Linked DNA regions of Homo sapiens: region 2 is linked to region 1. The links are contacts of gene promoters, found by promoter capture Hi-C in human tissues and cell types (Jung and others, 2019). All regions are on one chromosome and are shown on one strand. Each heading gives the region's core, a stretch centred on a gene start or on the middle of the fragment in contact. The rest is flanking DNA. Distances are from core to core; before and after follow the strand shown.

The links. The method cuts DNA at HindIII sites, captures the fragments that hold promoters and counts their contacts. A contact is called where the count stands out against the background at its distance.
Region 2: a fragment that was not itself captured here is called in contact with the fragment with the promoter of ZNF366 in region 1 in 2 of the 25 tissues and cell types used here (IMR-90 fibroblasts and aorta).

The regions. Positions count from the first base shown.
Region 1 is chr5:72,505,831-72,508,943 of GRCh38, reverse strand. It overlaps ZNF366 (zinc finger protein 366), which reads left to right and starts at 1,534. Exons shown (of 5, transcript NM_152625.3): 1 at 1,534-1,693. The HindIII fragment of the contact is 10,357 bases long and covers 1-3,113 here.
Region 2 is chr5:72,741,858-72,744,970 of GRCh38, reverse strand. The region is part of intron 5 of TNPO1-DT (TNPO1 divergent transcript); the gene reads left to right. Among named protein-coding and RNA genes, the nearest start is that of TNPO1-DT, 73 kb to the left of the region's middle. The HindIII fragment of the contact is 3,416 bases long and covers 1-3,113 here.

The DNA of each region.
Region 1 (3,113 bases), core at 285-2,784:
GACTGTCTCTGGTCATCCGTGTTCCCCACTGTTGGTGAGGCTGGGTCACCCAGGCCAGAACTCAGTGCCATGGGTTGTGCCAGTGTTGGTGCTGTGGCGGATGCAAGGAATGGGACTCTGCTCTGGCTTGTGCACACCTACCGAGTAACAAAATCTTCATGTCTCTCTCTGATACATGCACACATATTCAGATAACTAGATAGACAGGGAGATAGATAGATATATGGATAGATTAGATAGATAGATGATAGATAGATAGATAGATAGATAGATGATAGATAGACAGATAGATGATAGAAAAATATCTGTCAGAATAAAAACATAATCCTATAGGCCAATAAGGACTCAATCAAAATCTTACAGGGTCACTGAATCAGAATCATTCTTCCCCTGAACTCACTTTCATGACTCTTTGCAATCAGGTGTATCTGTCCACCCCATTTTTTTCACAGTTGGGTGAAATGAGGAAGTAGTGTAAGGCTGGTTTTTCTTTTGCTGCCACAAAGGTCTACATAACTGCTGGTTCCTGTTCACAGTGAAAATGGTCCTAACCAGATGAATAAGGGACACAAGAGACATAACACAAATCAGAGAAGTTAAAACCAAGCTTATTCCTAAGTGCAACTAGCCTAAGCAAGCTCATGCCTGCCTGCTGAAGCCCCAAGTCTTCTACCTTGATAAAGGTTACTCCCTCCATTTTAACTGCTCCTGCCTCCCCTATCTTTTTTCGAACACCATGGCTGATTTATCTAAACCCTATGCTGCTTCACAGTATTTTGAAAACAAATTAGAAATCTCCTTCCAGTTTTCCAGAGGTGATTAAATCCAAGACGCCTTAGGAATGTAGAGGATAGAATAATATAAACAACAGATCTGAGATAACCATGGCCGGCAGCAGTTGTGGTTAGTTGCTTCTTTTCCTTTTTCATCCATCAGTGATGGAAGCTGGATTGGGTCCACTGTATAAAGTTCGGTGGGCATAAATCTGCTATTTGATCCTGGAAAAACTCTAAGGATCTAGAGTCAGCGAGGAATTGCAGCAATGCTGGTGTTTCAAAGGGCCTAAGAAAAGCCAGGAGTCCTGGCTGCCCAGCCCCGACACTGTCTTACAGGCTGCAGGTTTACCTTGGTTAGCACAACAGGCCAAGCTCTCCCTTGCTCTAAGTCGACATGACATGATTTGTTCCCTTTCGGCTGTGTCAGTTCTGCAAACCAGATACCAGAGGCTGCAGGCTCAGGAGAGCCTGCCTGTCTGGAACACCGTTTGTTTGGACAGGACAGGCCACTAAGGCGTTTCATCTCTTTAAAGCTCCCAGGGCAGAGAACATATTTGAGGAATTCCTTTTTTCAAAGATTTTTTTTTTTTGCCCCTTCCAACATTTTGTTTAAGAGAAAATGAGATGTCTATCTTCTGTTTCCTTATTTTTTTTCAGGAAAGCAAAGGGTTGTTGACTTCCTCCCTCTCCCCTCCCTTCCTTCCTTCTTCCCGAAGGTACTCATCTGAGAAAAAGAGAACGAAGTATTGTTCCTGTTCTCTTTCTTAAGTCATTCGAAACACTGTCCCTGCGAGTTCTTTAAGTTCCCTGCAATCTGTACACAAGAGAAAGAGGGAGAGAGAGAGGGAGAGAGACAGAGAGAGCAGGGATCAGGTAAAGGAGTGGGGCTGCTGCAGCCATTCAGACCTCAGGAGCTGGTAAGTTACCCATGCAATCATTTCTGCTTCCTTTTCAAGGTTCCTGGGTGGATACTGCTGTGGGCATCTTCAACAGAAAATACCTTACTGGGAGTAGTCCTTAACCAAAGGGTATAAGTGATAGATGGCCCAGAATTTCAGCTAATACTTTTTTTTGGTAAGAGAATACTGATGCTTTGCAGAACTAAGGCTGGCAAAACTAGAAATAGAATTACATTGGGACTAAAGAGGACACTGCGTTAAATCTGAATTTTGGCACAGATCATGTGGCTGGGAGAACCAGGAGCCACTGGCGTGTGAGATGTGTCCCACTGGAGAATTTGCTCTTCCTCAGTACTGTGTCCTGGGAGCCTTATCAGGGTGTCTGTTAAGGACTGTGGTTTGCTCTGGGGTTTTTGTTAATACGTTACCTGGATTGAGGTGCCCTTCTCCTGTTCTTTTCTTTCCATTCAGCATCCCCCTAAAGGAGGATTGTTAATTGTTATATGATGGTTATTCTGCATCACTGAAGTAGAAGGGAAAGAGAGAAGGGAATGTCACTTGGAAATAGTTCTGCATGTGGGGAGCTTATGTGTTCAGGTTCCCCATGCGGGTTGAGTGTAAATTTATTATTCACTGTCAGTGGAAGATGTCATCTGCCACATGATAGAAGGCAAAGGTTTTGGGGCATATAGCTTTAGTTTTGGAAAACAATATGCAGCTAGAATGGGAGGATTAAGATGGATCATTTATGTCAGTAGGAGGGAAAAACTAAGTTACAGACGCAATTGAAAAGCATTCACCCAGTGCCTGGTTTTCCAAGCACCAAATAGGGCGTAGCAAGCTAGTCAAGCTAACATACACAACTAGTTTTTAAAAGTCTAACTTGCTTCAATTAGATTAGTCATAAAGGATAATGTTACCAGCACCTATCATCGCAAGCCATGAGGGAGCCGAAATCATGTTGTCAAAAATAGGTCAGCAAGGTCACTCCGAGAGACTCGTTATGTTTCCCAATATTAATACTTTAATTCAGAGAGATGCCGAATGGGTAAAAGCCAATGGCCAAGCATACTTTTTAAAAATATTCACTGCTATGAAATTTACTGATTGAAATCACCTGGGATGTGAAGAATAAGATAAAAATAGCTGGACTCTCATTTTAAAAATTAATTTGGCTAGACTATGCTTTAACCACATTCAAGTAATTAATCTTTATTCAAAATTGAACCATCATCTTACTAAGGATGAGAAAACATGACAGAACTAGACTGTGATGTAGCTTTTGTTCCATTAGTCAGACCTCTTTTTTCTTCTCCTTTTTTCAAGGATTTTCTTTAGGAGCATCATAAAACGAGCAATGTAAAGAGACGTGAATAGCGTTTGCCAGCTTGCGGATGCAAAATTATTCTAATAACAATTGAAAGTGTTTTACTGCTAC
Region 2 (3,113 bases), core at 160-2,659, 240 kb before region 1:
ATGGGCACTGGAAAAAAGTGTCTATTCCGTTTTTTTTGGGTGGAATGTTTTATATGTCAATTGGGTACTGTTGGTTAATTATATTTTTCAAATATTCTATATCCTTGATGATTTTCCATCTAATAGTTTTCTCATTTGTTGAGCAATCAAAAGCTCTTTAGTTTTAAAAAGAGGCTTTTTGGAAGAATCATCATCCTCAATAATAAACAGTTAAAGATCAATTTCAAAGCAACATGTGCTTTCTTTCCTTCTAGGAATATCTCTGTTGTTTCCAAACTCAGGCTAGAATCAATCAGTGGTCACTCTTTCCTTTTGCAAATAACCCAAATTATATTCTAGATTCTTTATTTTGGATGCAGCTGAATAACCTTCCAACCTGACTTATATTTATAGGTTGCTATTTTCTTCCCGTATATTTACATAGTCTGCTAGTTATTCCCCATACTGCCAAATGTCTTCTGAAATAATCAGCTGTCAGAGGTGAGAAAAATCTGTTAACACATGATGTGTGGCATAGCACAGAGCTGTGATTAAAAAATGATCTGGAGTATTAAAAATTCAAGCTGTCCTCTTCTAGCTAAGCTTTAAGCAAGTGCTAGTCACCTGCCCAAGGTCATTTGACTTTTGCCAGATTCTCTGTACTTTGAACGCTCTTGTAATACTTCTTATGTGGCACCATTTACAACTTCCTTGCATACCGTCTAGATATTTTACATGGAACTGCTAAGTAAACTGTGCTTAATGTCTTGGATCCATCCAGTCTCTTGGGCCAGAGCTCTGGGAATCCCTAATCGGCGGTTTCTCTGTTATTGCACACATTGCATGTATCTCCTGTGGATTCTGCCTCCAAAATTCCTTTCAAATTTATCTCTTTCTCCTCATCTCCACTGCCATTGGCTTGGTTCAGGCCCTCATCAAGACTTTCCTGGATAATTCCAATAGTATGCACACTGGACTCACCTTGCTTTAATTCATCCTCCATGTTACTACTGTGAGAATAATCTAAATATAAATGAAATCACATTTCTCCTCCTTTAAGTCCTTCTATAAATCTTCTCATAGGTACTGGGATCAAATTCAAGCGATAAGTTAGCTGACAGATATTTGCCTACCTCTCTAATCTCATTTTCACCAACCTCCCTTCTGTGCTTATTTGCAGCCACTTAAACTGCAATTACCTTAAGTTTATGCTATTTATTGCCCTATGCATTAGCAGTTATTGTTGCTTCTGCCTTACATGAATTTTCTACTCATCCTTCAAGACCTAGGTCAGGCATCATCCCCTCTAAAATGGCTTTCTGGTGTGGGTTGGATGTTTCTCTCATGTTCCACAGCATCTTCTACATGATTCCTTCCATATGAGATGCAGTATTGCATTGTGTTGCGGGCTCTGAAGCCACAGTATGTGAGTGTAAGTCGCCCTTTTTAATTTTTTTTTTTTGACAGAGTGTTGCTCTCTCACCCAGGCTGGAGTGCAGTGGCGTGATCTCGGCTCACTGCCACCTCTGTCTCCTGGGTTCAAGCGATTCTCCTGCCCCAGCCTCCCAAGTAGCTGGGATTACAGGCCTGTGCCACCATGCCCGGCTAATTTTTGTATTTTTAGTGGAGACAGGGTTTCCCCATGTTCACATGCTGCTCTCAAACTCCTGACCTCAGGTGATCAGCCTGCCTCGGCCTCCCAAAGTGTTGGGATTACAGGTGTGAGCCACCGCGCCCGGCCATAAATCAGTTTTTTAAAATGACTACCTGTGTGACCTCTGCAAGTTTTTTAGCTTTTTTCATTCCTCAGTTTCCCTGTCTGTGAAGTGATAACAGTATCTGTCTCATGTGGTTGCTTTGGGTTTTATATTGAGGTGACAAACATGGAGTCCTTAGAATTATGCCTACATGAGAGTCAGACGCTCAATGCATGTCAGCCGTTCCCAGTAATTTATTTTCTTTTCAGTTTGCTGTTTCATAAGATCCTAAACTTTCAAAGGGATGGAACTAGTCTTTGTTTTCTCAGCATCTAGTGCAAAGAAGGCATTCAATACTTTGTGAATGCATAAATGAACTATAAGCACCATATGTAAGGTGTTATTTTACTTGGTGATACTTTCCTATTCCCCAGTACTTTCTGACACATTTAGCTCATACAAGAACAAGCTAGCAGTGTGCATAGCAAGTCTTTAAACAATTATAGTAAATTATAGCATATATATTATATAAGATAGTATATTATTTATTTCCAAAGCAAGGTTTCTTAAGTTAGAGAAGAATAATCTGTAAATTTGATAGAACTTTATTGTTTGGGTGATTTGTTTTGAAAAGTCAGCATTGTTCTTTCTTGTTGGTGTGTGGCATCTTCTATGATACCATGTGCCACTAGCTTCAAATTATGACAAAATCCACATATTGTTCATGTTGTTGACATAGGGGAAAATTCTGTTTCCTATCTTCTTTGAATCTCTCACATATTTTTGCATTTTACACAATGTTTCATAATCATATCATGTGTGCAATAGACTAAAAACAAGCAAGCTCCTGCCATCTCCCTGAGAAAAGGCTGCTAAGTGGCACAAGATTTCATTTTCTAGCAACATTGTCTGGCAAATATATAAGACGTTCATCTTCCTCCATTTCTAGATTAATATGTTTTATTTAATAAAACTAACCACATTGTGTAGCAGTCCATAGTCTTCTGGATGTCTATATTAGAATTAGGTTTGACTGTGAATGATAGAAACTCAAAATAACAATGGCTTAAACAAGTTAAAAGCTTATTTATCTTATGTAAACAGAAGCAGTCCTGAGCTAGAATGGCAGTTCAATCATCAGAGACCAAGGCTCTCTCCAGCATGCTGCTCTGCCATCCTTAATACACAGGTTCAACTCCTAGTTTAAGAGAGCTGTTCCTTTCCAGCCTTCACATCATCAGTCCAGCCAGCAGGAAAAGGAAAACACTCTGCTGCTATTTAAGGACACTCCCTGTAAGTTGCATATGCATTCCCATTTATCAGAACTTGGTCACAGGGCCACATCTAGCTCAAAAAGGAAGTCTTGGGAATGCAGTCTTTGTCCTGGGTGGCCATGTGCTCAGCTGAAAATTGTGGGTTCTATTTCTGAGAAGGAAT